Linked DNA regions of Homo sapiens: regions 1, 2 and 3 are each linked to region 4. Evidence: promoter capture Hi-C in 16 types of primary human blood cells and fetal thymus (Javierre and others, 2016). All regions are on one chromosome and are shown on one strand. Each heading gives the region's core, a stretch centred on a gene start or on the middle of the fragment in contact. The rest is flanking DNA. Distances are from core to core; before and after follow the strand shown.

The links. The method cuts DNA at HindIII sites, captures the fragments that hold promoters and counts their contacts. A CHiCAGO score of 5 or more calls a contact.
Region 1: a contact is called between a fragment that was not itself captured here and the fragment with the promoter of SETD6 in region 4, in 2 of 17 cell types (M2 macrophages and total CD4 T cells). The highest score is 6.4, in M2 macrophages.
Region 2: a fragment that was not itself captured here is called in contact with the fragment with the promoter of SETD6 in region 4 in 1 of 17 cell types (total CD4 T cells); the score reaches 6.3 in total CD4 T cells.
Region 3: the fragment with the promoter of PRSS54 here is called in contact with the fragment with the promoter of SETD6 in region 4 in 2 of 17 cell types (M0 macrophages and M2 macrophages); the score reaches 6.4 in M0 macrophages.

What each region holds. Positions count from the first base shown.
Region 1 is chr16:58,716,406-58,719,575 of GRCh38, reverse strand. GOT2 (glutamic-oxaloacetic transaminase 2) reads left to right here. Exons shown (of 10, transcript NM_002080.4): 4 at 321-380; 5 at 888-1,049; 6 at 1,276-1,380; 7 at 2,763-2,913. Among named protein-coding and RNA genes, the nearest start is that of GOT2, 16 kb to the left of the region's middle. RefSeq lists an enhancer at 322-1,521. The HindIII fragment of the contact is 2,345 bases long and covers 396-2,740 here.
Region 2 is chr16:58,749,557-58,752,573 of GRCh38, reverse strand. LOC107984867 (a long non-coding RNA gene) reads right to left here and starts at 2,904. Exons shown (of 3, transcript XR_001752227.2): 1 at 2,461-2,904. The HindIII fragment of the contact is 1,284 bases long and covers 996-2,279 here.
Region 3 is chr16:58,293,740-58,296,906 of GRCh38, reverse strand. It overlaps PRSS54 (serine protease 54), which reads left to right and starts at 1,882. Exons shown (of 7, transcript NM_001305173.2): 1 at 1,882-2,020; 2 at 2,698-2,922; 3 at 3,085-3,167. The coding sequence starts at 3,091. The HindIII fragment of the contact is 4,073 bases long and covers 1,718-3,167 here.
Region 4 is chr16:58,513,755-58,516,846 of GRCh38, reverse strand. SETD6 (SET domain containing 6, protein lysine methyltransferase) reads right to left here and starts at 1,330. Exons shown (of 8, transcript NM_001160305.4): 1 at 1,283-1,330; 2 at 750-1,056; 3 at 504-645; 4 at 175-369; 5 at 1-39. The coding sequence starts at 1,309. It also overlaps a transcript of NDRG4 not described here. RefSeq lists enhancers at 276-445, 1,486-1,655 and a silencer at 706-1,365. The HindIII fragment of the contact is 14,988 bases long and covers 1-2,519 here.

The DNA.
Region 1 (3,170 bases), core at 319-2,818, 200 kb before region 4:
ATGTTGGCCAGGCTGGTCTCGAACTCCTGACCTCAGGTGATCCACCCGCCTTGGCCTCCTAAAGTTCTGGGATTACAGGCATGAGCCACCGCACCCAGCCTCTCAGTGTCTTTTTATATCTTTTATATAATTCACCCCTTTTTCATATTGAGGAGGAATTTTTGTGTTCTGAAAGTTTCCCGTGTAACATGAAATGATACTGACAGGCCATAAAGAATGAGCTTCTGAAGTATGAAAGGTCCTGGACAAAGCAGTGGCCCTGGGTCTGGGCCTGTATAGAGAGTGTTGCACATCACTGACCGTGGGTATCTCTCCTTCAGTTTGTCACTGTGCAGACCATTTCTGGAACTGGAGCCTTAAGGATCGGAGCCAGTTTTCTGGTGAGTCTGGAAGCTTCTTCAGGAAAGAATTATAAATTCCAGATGACAGGGCTTCCTGTTGTGTGTGTATTTGACTGTTGATGCAGAAGTAGATTTCTTCTTTCCGTGAAGTTTGCAGATGTCCTATTCTCATGAAAAAATGAAAGGACTTTGAAGAAATTACAGGAAAGATATATTAGTGATGATGATAAATTCAGTTCACTAGGAACTTACTATTTACTAGGGAGCTTTTGCATTTTAACTTGTTTAATCCCTATGAGAGAGGTACAATTAACCCCCTTTACAAGTGAAGAAAGCAAGACCCAGAAAGGTCCTTGGCTACATGGCCAGTATAACTGTCAGAGACTATTCCAACCCAGGCAGTCTTACTGCTGAGTCAATACTGCTTCTCAACCATAGAGAGAAACTGGGTTTCAGCAGAGAAAAATGTTCTCTCAATAAAACACATCAACATTTTTTTGCCTCTCCTTTGTTCATTTTTCTGTTTCCTTTCGTCCCATCTTTTAGCAAAGATTTTTTAAGTTCAGCCGAGATGTCTTTCTGCCCAAACCAACCTGGGGAAACCACACACCCATCTTCAGGGATGCTGGCATGCAGCTACAAGGTTATCGGTATTATGACCCCAAGACTTGCGGTTTTGACTTCACAGGCGCTGTGGAGGATATTTCAGTAAGTGTGGCTTTCAGGGTGAGAGAGGTGAATAAAACTCCTTGCTTGCGGACATTTGATGTCTCCCACCATGTCCCAATATCTGAGTTAAAATACTGGGGAAGAGCTGATTCCCAGGGTTCTGGTTACCTTTGTTACTTATCAAATGATGACGATCCTGTGGCATTTCAGATAAACCATTTCCTTTAAAGCTGCAAAGTCGTCTCTTGGCTGTTTTTCTCTTTAGAAAATACCAGAGCAGAGTGTTCTTCTTCTGCATGCCTGCGCCCACAATCCCACGGGAGTGGACCCGCGTCCGGAACAGTGGAAGGAAATAGCAACAGTGGTGAAGGTGAGGACGATGAACTCACTGGCGACAGTTCTGTGTTTAGTAACCAGCTTTGGAGGCTTAATTTGGCAATGTCTCAACAGAGAGTCTTAACCTCGAACCTGCGTGAAATGTCCACACAGGTGGATAAGCTGCCAGAAAAGGGCTCCCCATTTGCGTGATTAGCAGTTCTGGGATTGATGACGCATGAGTATTTGAAAGTAATTTTTTTTGGCTGGGCGCGGTGGCTCACGCCTGTAATCCCAGCACTTTGGGAGGTCGAGGCAGGTGGATCACCTGAGGTCAGTTCGAGACCAGCCTGGCCAACATGGTGAAACCCCGTCTCTACTAAAACTACAAAATTAGCTGGGCGTAGTGGCCCATGCCTGTAATCCTAGCTACTTGGGAGGCTGAGGCAGGAGAATCACTTGAACCCAGGAGGTGGAGATTGTGGTGAGCCGAGATTGTGCCACTGCACTCCAGCCTGGGCAACAAGAGCAAAACTCTGTCTCTAAAAAAGAAAAAAAGAAAATAATTTTTTTCCTCATCCTGGATGTAGGGAACTCTGATAAAACCTGTCCACTGGCCCCAGGATGTCTGCTGTTGATGCCTATATTCGCCCTGGTCAGTGGTTGCTTATTGATCTTTTTAAACACTTTTTCATGTCCTCTCCTTTGCAGCATTGCCATGATCACTCTCAAAGTGTAGCCAGCTGTCAGAGAAGACACTAGTCAAAATTCCTAGGGAGGAAAATGTTATTCCTGTTGTCTCATGTCCCTGTTTTCCCTTTTCACTCCTTTTCATTTCCCTTTCTTTTCTCTCTCTCTCTTTTTTTTTCTTTTGAGACAGAGTCTCACTCTGTCGCCTTAAGCCAGAACGCAGTGGCACAGTCACAGCTCACAGCAGCCTCTACCTCCAGGGCTCAAACAATCCTCCTACCTCAGCCCCTGAGTAGCTGGGACTACAGACATGTGTGCCACACCTGCCTGGCTAATTCTTCCTATTTTTCACAGAGACAGCATCTCACTTTGTTGCCCAGGCTGATCTCAAACTCCTGGGCTCAAGTGATCCTCCCACCTTGGCCTCCCAAAGTGCTGGGATTATAGACATGGGCCACCATGCCTGGCCAGTTTCCCTTTCTTTAACTTCTGTCAAATCTAAGCTGCAAACAGAATGAGACAGAAACAGCATTTGGAGAGCACTTTCAAGATAAAATGGTTCTAATGATGTTGTCTCGTGAGTCCTGGGTATAAGTTGAGTCTTCCAGGATTACGTTAGCCCCAGAAAAGGCTTATTGTGCTTATTGGGACCATGCCCACCTCACATAAACATCTTTCAGACTTTTATAAACATCTGGGGCCTCTTCAGAAAGACTGCTAAAGCTTCGATCTTTCGTTCCTTCTCAGAAAAGGAATCTCTTTGCGTTCTTTGACATGGCCTACCAAGGCTTTGCCAGTGGTGATGGTGATAAGGATGCCTGGGCTGTGCGCCACTTCATCGAACAGGGCATTAATGTTTGCCTCTGCCAATCATATGCCAAGAACATGGGCTTATATGGTAAGCTACAGCATCCAGCATGACACATGCTCTCATGCTGGGAGAGAATGCCACGAGGGCATAGAGCTTGTGGGTGTGTGTGTGTGTGTGTGTGTGTGTGTGTCCATCCATGTCCATGTCCCTCCCTACCCTAAGATGAAAGACCAGTATCGTAGATTTTACTGATTTTCTTAGCCATATATTCTTCGGTGTCCTTAAGTTTTTCCAGCAAAGGAAACTGATTACTGCTTCTCTAAACAAAAAGTAACAAATCCGTG
Region 2 (3,017 bases), core at 388-2,887, 240 kb before region 4:
AAAGCAAGGAGAGAGCTAGCCCTGGGCCTGGAAGTGGGCCAGACACCGTAGGTTAGATTAAGGCAGGAGAATAGCTTCCAGTTTGAAGTTAAAGTTTCTTCTTACTTTCACGGCTCTTTCAGGTGCTTAGTGTGAGACATAGCAGCAAGTGCTAAGAGGCCGTATTTGCTCATTTCTGTTTGAACCCCCGACTCTGATAAAATACAGCTCTCAGGAAGAATGTCTTGAAGTCAGAAGAGGACAGAGCGCACAGCCTCCCACATCCCTCGCCTGAGTCAATACATTCCTTAAAAGGATCAATTGAGGCCAGGTGCAGTAGCTCATGCCTGTAATCCCAATACTTTGGGAGGCCAAGTCAGGAGAATTGTGGGACCAGGAGTTAGAGATCAGCCTGGGCAACATGGCAAGACCCATTCTCAAAAAAAATTTTTTTTTTAAGGTAAATGATCCTTGCCTTGCCTTTTCTTACACTTAAGATAACGTCCAGTAGAGTTAGTGGTTATGCTTCTGTAAGCTACAACCAGTTTTTTTTGTTGTTTTGTTTTGTTTGTTTTTTGAGACGGAGTGCTCTGTCGCCAGGCTGGAGTGCAGTCTTGGCTCACTGCAACCTCTGCCTCCAGGGTTCAAGCGATTCTCCTGCCTCAGCTTCCCAAGTAGCTGGGACTACAGGAGTGCACCACCACATCCAGCTAATGTTTGTATTTTTAGTAGAGATGGGGTTTTGCCATGTTGGCCAGGCTGGTCTCAAACTCCTGACCTCAGGTGATCCACCTGCCTCGACCTCCTAAAGTGCTGGAATTACAGGCATGGGCCACTGTGCCTGGCCTGGATGTGATTTTACACATACTGAACCTCTGCCACCTGTGTACGAGCAGTAGGCACTTCCGGAACAGTCTGATAGGACATCTCTAACAGGCCACTCCCAGGCTGTAGGCTTCGGTTTCTAGCCCTCAGTAAGACTTCTAAATAAAACTATCTTTAATTCTTTAAAAGCTTGATGTTTTTCCTTTAACACCAGCATGATTTAAACAGAACTATTTGAAGGAATTAAGTGCTGTGAATTTGTATACTGGTTTGTTTCTCCAAATTGTGGTTAGGAGGGCAGAGCACAAATCCTAACTATTGGCCAGGTGCAGTGGCTCACGCCTGTAATCCCAGCACTTTGGAAAGGAGAGGGATCACTTGTGCCCAGGAGTTCGAGGCCAGCCTGGGCAACATGGCAAAACCTCGTCTCTACCAAAATACAAAAATTAGCCAGTTTCCTAACCCAATCCTCTAAATAAATAAACATTTAAAAATAAAACTAAAAAAAAAAAAAAAATCCTTACTATTGAGCACAGAGAATCTCTCCCCAGTAAAGCCTGAAGTCTTGACTTTGAAGTCAATGACTGCACCCCTCTCCCTGCTCTCCATACTCTGCAAGCTCAGGCCTGGGGTTTGTCTGAATCCCCTCAGTGAGCCATGATCGTGCCACTGCTCTCCAGCCTGGGTGACAGAGCAAGACCCCTGTTTCAAAAAAAAAAAAAAAAAAAAAAAAAAGAAGGCCGGATGTGGTGGCTCACGCCTGTAATCCCAGCACTTTCAGAGGCCAAGGTGGGTGGATTGCCTAAGGTCAGGAGTTCGACACCAGCCTGGCCAAGATGGTGAAACCCATCTCCACTAAAAATACAAAAGTGAGCCAGGCATGTTGGCAGGCACCTAGAATCCCAGCTGCTCGGGAGGCTGAGGCAGCAGAATCTCTTGAACCTGGGAGGCAGAGGTTGCAGTGAGCCAAGATCGTGCCACCGTGCACTCCAGTCTGAGCAACAGAGCAAGACTCCATCTCAAATAAATATTTTAAGAAATAAAAAATAAAAATACATAAGCAGCCAGGCATTGTAGTTCACATCTGTAATCCCAGCACTTTCAAAGGCCAAGGTTGGTGGATTGCTTGAGCTCAGAAGTTCAAGACTAGCCTGGCCAACATGGCAAAATCCTATCTTTACGAAAAAATACTAAAACTAGCTGGGTGTGGTGATGTACGCCTGAAGTCCCAGCTACTCAGAAGGCTGAGGTCAACAGCCAGCTTGAGCCCCGGAGATCAAGGCTGCAATGAGCCTTGTTTGCACCACTGCACTCCCACCTGGGCAACAAAGTGAGACCCGCCCCCGTCTCGAAAAACACAGCACAGTCACTCCCCTCACCCTACAACACCATGCTGACTCACGACCTGCAATTTCACAAGTTCTCAAGGTGATGTGCAACATGAGAAGCACTGCTCCAACTAACCTCTAAAAGCTTTTTCAAATTTATAGAATTCTATACTACACAATTTCAACACGATTGGGGTGGGAGCGGTAGGGCGCAGGTAATCGCAGCACTTTGTGAGGCTGAGGCGGCGCGGATTACGAGGTCAGTATTTTGAGACGAGCCTAGCCAACATGGTGAAACCTCACCTCGACTAAAGATACAAAAAATTACCCGGGCGTGGTGGGTGCCTGTAGTCCCAGGTATTCGGGAGTCTGAGGCAGGAGAACCACTTGAACCCAACGTATTCGGAATTGGTAGGTTCTTGGTCTCACGGACTTCAAGAATGAAGCCGCGGGCCCTCGCGGTGAGTATCACAGTTCTTAAAGGTGGCGTGTCTGAAACTTGTTCCTTCTGATGTTCGGAGTTTTTTCCTTCTGATGGGTTCATGGTCTCGCTGACTCAGGAGTCAAGCTGCACACCTTCCTAACGAGTATTACAGCTCTTAAAGCGGTGCGTCTGGAGTTGTTCGTTCTTCCCGGTGGGTTTGTGGTCTCGATGATTTCAGGAGCGAAACTGCAAACCTTTGCTGTGTTACAGCTCAAAAAGACAGTGCAAACCCAAACAGCAAAACAACATAAGCCGCGACAGTGTGGAAGGACGCCGAAACATGTTACCACCGCAACCTCAGGCAGCCTGCTTTTATTCTTATCTGGCCCCACCCACATCCTGCTGATTGGTCCATTTTACAGAGAGCCAATTGGTCTGTTTCACTGAGAGCTGATTGGTCC
Region 3 (3,167 bases), core at 633-3,132, 220 kb after region 4:
TGTGAAAAACAAGACTTCAAGGGTTTGAGAAGAAGATAGAGTAGACTAGATCTCTGATGCTGAGCTACGGAAGAATTTCTTAAACAAGACACAAAGAGTCCTAACTGAATAAGATGAATACATGTGAGTTCATGAAAATTAAGACTTCTGGTCTTAAGTGGAGACAGGGTTTCACCGTGTTAGCCAGGATGGTCTCGATCTCCTGACCTCGTGATCCGCCTGTCTCGGCCTCCCAAAGTGCTGGGATTACAGGTGAGAGCCACCGTGCCCGGCTGGATACGGGTATTAAGCAAAGAACAACTGAATGAGAAACACATTCTGGGCCACCACGTTCTCACCTGGAAAGCTCAGGAAATGCCTTTGTCCTGCCAGGGTGACTGGGGATTGTGAGGGAGGAAACATATGGTAATGAAAGCTCTTTGAGGGCCGGGTGCAGTGGCTCATATCTATATAATGGCTAATGCTTTGGGAGGTTTAGGTGGGAGGATCACTTGAGCCCAAGAGTTCGAGACCAGCGTGGGCAACACAGTGAGACCCCATCTCTTCAAAAAAATATAATATGAAAAATTAGCCAGACTTGGTGGCACAGGCCTGTAGTTCCAGCTACTTGGGAGGCTGAGGCTGGAGGATCACTTGAGCCCAGGAGTTCGAGGCTGCAGTGAGCTGTGATTGCACCACTGTACTCTAGCCTGGACAACAGAGCAAGAACTTGTCTCTAAAAACAATAAAAAATAAAAATTTAAAATACAGCTTTTTGATACCTGTGATGTGGAACAAATTAAAGAATCAACTCGCACTTCTCCCACTGCCAAAAATTTTCTGTTCTTGTAGCAGAAGCCAATACCCCCGCCCCCCTGCCCAGGGTTAAAGGTGAGGGAGGGTGGTGAAGCCGGCAGGACATCAGGGGAACCATGGGGGAAGGAGGTAGCGGCTCCCTTTGGACTCAGGCCTCACTTTATTATTATTATTATTATTTTGAGACAGGCTGTCACTCTGTCGCCCAAGCTGTAGTGCAGTGGTGCGATCTCAGCTCACTGCAACCTCCACCTCAGCTTCCCGAGTACCTGGGACTATAGGTGTGTGCCACCACGCCTGGCTAAATTTTTGTATTTTTGGTAAAAGACAGGGTCTCACCATGTTACCCAGTCTGGCCTCAAACTCCTGAGCTCAAGCAATTTGCCTGCCTCGGCTTCGCAAAGTGCTGGGATTATAGGCGTGAGCCACCGTGCCCAGCCAGTTTCCACTTTCTCACCAGCCTTCCTGCCTTCCATCAGCCATTCATCTACCCATCCAGTAAGGATCTTCTGAGCGTCTGCACCAGAGGCCTGTGCGCCCACCCTCCCCCTGTGGCTCCGTGGAATTAACATCTTACCTCAACCTTGTCGACACTTCTCGAGTCCTGGCATTTGGGCTGAAACCAAAGCTGCTCACAGTGGCTGGAGTGGCAGATCCCATCTGGGCCTCTGGTTTGGCAGAGCTGGTCTGGTAGCTTAGATTGGACCCGGAAACTGAGAGGCTAAAGAAAACTGGGCTAAGTCTGAAAGAAACCACCCTGGGAGTGTAAGATGCTGACGGGGACTGGAAATTCCAAACCCACCCCAGTTGTGGGCTTCCTCAGTCCAGTCTGACAAGCATGTGTGGACACAGGGCGGGCGCTGAGTGGGGTAGACAGACCGTGGCCACGACCAGAGAAGACTTTGTAATCCAGCAAAAAGCTTGCCTTCTCAGACTAGGAGAGAGCCTGGCTTCCAGAAGAGCCCTGCCAAGGCTAAGCAACAAGGAGGCCTTTCATCCTAGCTCCTCGTAAGTCCCCATGTCCAGACAGTTGCTTGGTGGTGCCATGGTAACCGTGATGCCACAATGGAACATTCTTCCCAAGGCAGTAGAAGAAATCCTTCTGTTGAACTCTACTGTGTCAGGCCAGCCTGAGTTCATTTCTCCTTGAGCAGGAACAGTTCATGGACGAACTCTGAGGACCATTCTGAGGACAAGAGGCATCCAGTGTCATGAGTGGAACATGGTGACTTAGAACTGTGCACATGGGTTCCTTGGGCTTCTGTGCATTGCTTGACAGCTGTGTGACCTTGGACTGGCTAGTTGATGTCTCTGAGTATCAGTTTCTGAATCTGTAAAATGGCGATAACTCGAGTGTCTACTTCCTACCGCGGTTTTGCAAATGAACTAAGCTAAATGCTGGGGCTGTTCCTATGTAAAGATACAGGCTATTGGCCGGGCACGGTGGCTCACGCTGGTAATCCCAGCACTTTGGGAGACTGAGGCGGGTGGATCACCTGAGGTCAGGAGTTCGAGACCAGCCTGGCCAACGTGACGAAACCCCATCTGTACTAAAAATACAAATATTACAAAATATTACAAAATAATACAAAAATTAGCTGGGCGTGGTGGCGCACATCTGTAGTCCCAGCTACTCAGGAAGCTGAGGCAGGAAAATCGCTTGAACCTGGGAGGCAGAGGTTGCAGTGAGCCAAGCTCGTGCCACTGCACTCCAGCCTGCCAAGGGAGCGAGACTCAGTCTCAAAAAAAATAAAATAAAATAAAAAACAAAAAAACAGGCTGTTAACAGTTAACAGAAGCCCTAGCGTTCTTTTAGCCAGCAGAGTTTAGAAGGGTAAAACCACAGCAGAGGCATTAATCCCAGGGTGGGCTTCCACTAAAACTCTACTTTTCTTTCAGCAGCATTTTATGGCTACAGAGTTAAGGCAAGGGTTGAATTCCACGAGTCAAAAAGCAGCCCTTTTCAGAGACCCAACTCTCTGGGGTGCTCAGGGGCTTGGGCTGGATTGAGAAGAAAACTGACAAGAGTAAGCTGCCCTCTCTTCTCTGGCCATCTCACAAACCACAGTGCGGGCCAACTGGTCCTGCCTCTTTACCACACAGAACCAAGCACTAGGGATAAGACAGGTCAGTGCCCTACATCTTGGAACCTTTGTTAGTAGAAAGAGGGGGAGCCTCTGATGTTTGGGAGGGAACATGTGTGTTTGGGAAGAGGATGGAAAAAAGAGGCATAGAAAACCCTGCATGTGTTTGGGAAGAGGATGGAGTCATTGGGTTTTGTTTCCCCAGCTGCCCATGGTGTCCGCGGCGGGTCTCTCTGGGGATGGCAAGATGCGAGGGGTGCTCCTGGTGCTGCTCGGCCTTCTCTATTC
Region 4 (3,092 bases), core at 81-2,580:
TCCTTTTCATCCTCTTCTTCCTCCAGTGGTTCCTGAAAGCTGCCATTGACAGAACCTGGCTAAGGCCCTGTCTTGGGTGAGGGACTGGGGGTGGATTTCACTGTTTTTCCACTTTTGTCCCTCTATAGAGTTGTAAAGAAAAGGGTTCCGTCCTCAGAGGCCCCACCCACTGACCTATAGGCCATCACAAGGGCCACCAGCTGGTGGTAGAGTTCTAGGGAGCGAACCCTGAGGCTGAAGAGATCGGGGTGGGCTTCCATGAAGGGCAGCACGATGGACTGGTACTCGCTGCGGATGTTGGCCAAATCCTTCTCCACGGCCTCAGGTACGCCTGTGCCCTGGAGCAGGCACCGGCGCTCCTCCTCTGGCCTGCAGGGACACCCACACCCAGGTTCCCTTCATTCCTTCACACACTTTACTGGGTAGGACTGGTGCAGGGGCGGGGAAACTTCTTGCAGCAGGCTACGGTGCAGGCGCTCCCCAACCCCTCCCAAGGCTCTCACCAGAACATCGGGTGCTCCAAGCGGCCCAGCTCGGGCCAGAGCGCAAAGTAGGGCCTCCAGCGTGAGGCCGGGGCCTGCAGCTCGTGGAGCAGCGCCAGCAGCAGTGGCACCCAGCCCGACTGGCTCTGCAGCGCAACTCGCTCTGAGGAAGACACAGGTGTGAGCGCCCCGGCGCGGCCTCGCGGGCCGGGCCCGCCCCGCCCCGCCCCGCCCCGCCCCAGGGCCCTAGCCCGCCGCCGTGCCCACCTCGCTCCAGCAGGCCGCCGATGGAGCAGGTGTGCTGCGACAGGAGCGCGGCCCGCGGCACCACGAACAACAGCTCTCCGGCCTGCACGCTCTCCCGGGCCACCATGCCGTAGCCGGCCACCGTGCCCTGCCGGCTGACCGCCACCTGAGCAGGAGGGCTGGTCAGGGCAGCCCGCGCCCCGCCGCGGGTCCTCCGCCCGCCGGCTCGCTCGCTCACCTTGGGACTCAGCTCCAGCCCCACCCGCCGGCACCAGCTCAGGAAGCAGGCCACAGGATCCAGGTCGCCGCCGTCCACGGGCCCCGCCACCTGAGATAAGTGCGCGCAGTGACCAGGTCCGACCCCCAGAGAGGCCGCTGGGAACTGCAGGAGACCGCGGCGCGAGCGCAGAACGGGCTTTGGGTGGAGGAGGGGACGAGCGGAGAGGGGCGCGGGACCCGCGGGAGGGAGCGGAGGGGGCGCAGGCGGACGGTTCTGCGAACGGAGAAGGGGTGAGGCGCGGAGGAAAAGGCTGGACCCCGCGCCCGCCACTCACCCGTGGACGCTTCGCCTGGGTCGCCATGGTCTAAGAGCGCGTTTCCTCGCGGGCCGGCGCACCGCGCGGTCACTTCCGGCGTCTCTGGCCCCGCCCCGGCGCCGGAACCACGTGGTGCCTGTTTTGTCGTCCACGCTGCAGACTGGCCGGAGTTACCGCGGGCTGGAATCGTTCCTCATGAAAACATCTTGAGTCCAGGATCTCCAATTGCACTCACGCGCTGCGAGTGCAGAAGGAGAGTCCCGTGCCGCTTGGCGCCTGGTTCTGAGCCAGGTACAGCCCTGGCCTTCGGTCTGTCCCCGAGGGCTGAGGCTTCTTGCGGTCTGGGTGCAAGAACAAAATACGGTTTCTGGATCGGAAGCCGAGGGTCTGGTGGCCGGCCGGTGGTGAGCGACGCAACTGGGCGGCGAGCGACCTCCTGATCTCGACCCCTTGTTGCCGATGGCCATGGAACCCTTTTACTGGTGGTATTCGTTCAGAGCAGTTTTCGTGTGTGTTTCAGAGTGGCGTGGCCTAGAGGGCTCCTGGATCTAGAATAGATCCTCTCTGCCCTTATTTGCCAGTACATCCTCGTTTTTAATCTGCTGCATAGCACGTGGTGGGTTTTATTAGCTGACATAGTAGGGACTCAATATCTACCTATTGGGTAAATAAATGAATAAAACAAATGGTGGTTAAACCTGGGGAAGTAGCATGCTGTTAAATGTAAGAAAATGAGGCTGTGAATATAGAGGTTACAGGAATGGGTTTTGAAGCCAAGCAACGCCGCAGCTCAACACTCAGTTTTTTTTTTTTTTCCTTTTTTTTTTTTTTTTTTTTGGCGCGTTGGGGAGACGGGAGTCTCGCCCAGGCTGGAGTGCAGTGGTGCGATCTCGGCTCACTGCAACCTCCACCTCCCGGGTTCAAGCAATTCCCCTGCCTCAGCCTCCCAAGTAGCTGGGACTACAGGCGTACGCTGCCATGCCCAGCTAATTTTTTGTGTTTATTTTTAGTAGAGTCGGGGTTTCACCGCGTTGCCCAGGCTGGTCTCGAACTCCTGAGCTCAGGCAATCCCCCCGCCTCGGCCTCCCAGAGTGCTAGGATTACAGGCGTGAGCCACCGCGCGCGGCCTGGTCTGTTACTCAGGCAAATCCTTTTTCCTGAACCTTAGTCTCCTCACCTGCGAAACTAAGATAATACCTACTCTGTAGAATTAATGTAAGGATTGGTATGTTGACTAAAGAAAAAATATTAAGCTTTTAAATAATTAAAATTAGTTTTATTTAGAAGCCTTATTGAGGACTATAGACTGAGGCCTGTAGCCCAGGAGTAATCTTGTGAGGCTCCTCTAACACGGTATTTTAGTTTAGGTTATACATAGGTGAAGATTTAGTATGTGTAAAATCATATCAAAGTTTAGGGATAAGTATATCTGGTTATAGATTGCAGAGTATAATCATTAACCCTGTCAGACATGATCGTATGTTTAGGAGAAGGCAAAGAGTAGGTCATTTATCTTTGAAGGAATGTAGTGACTCAGGCAAGAGATTTGGAGGGCAGGGGTGTTTTGTTTTGTCTTTAAGGCATTTTTTTCTGGAGAGCTGTATTTTGTTTTTTTGTTTTATTTTGAGGCAGAGTCTTGCTCTGTCATCCAGGCTGGAGTGCAGTGGCACGATCTCCACTCACTACCACCTCTGCCTCCTAGGTTCAAGCGATTCTCCTGCCTCAGCCTCCCGAGTAGCTGGTATTACAGGCACGCGCCACCATGCTCAGCTAATTTTTGTATTTTTAGTAGAGACGGGGTTTCACCATGTTGCCCAGGCTGGTCTCG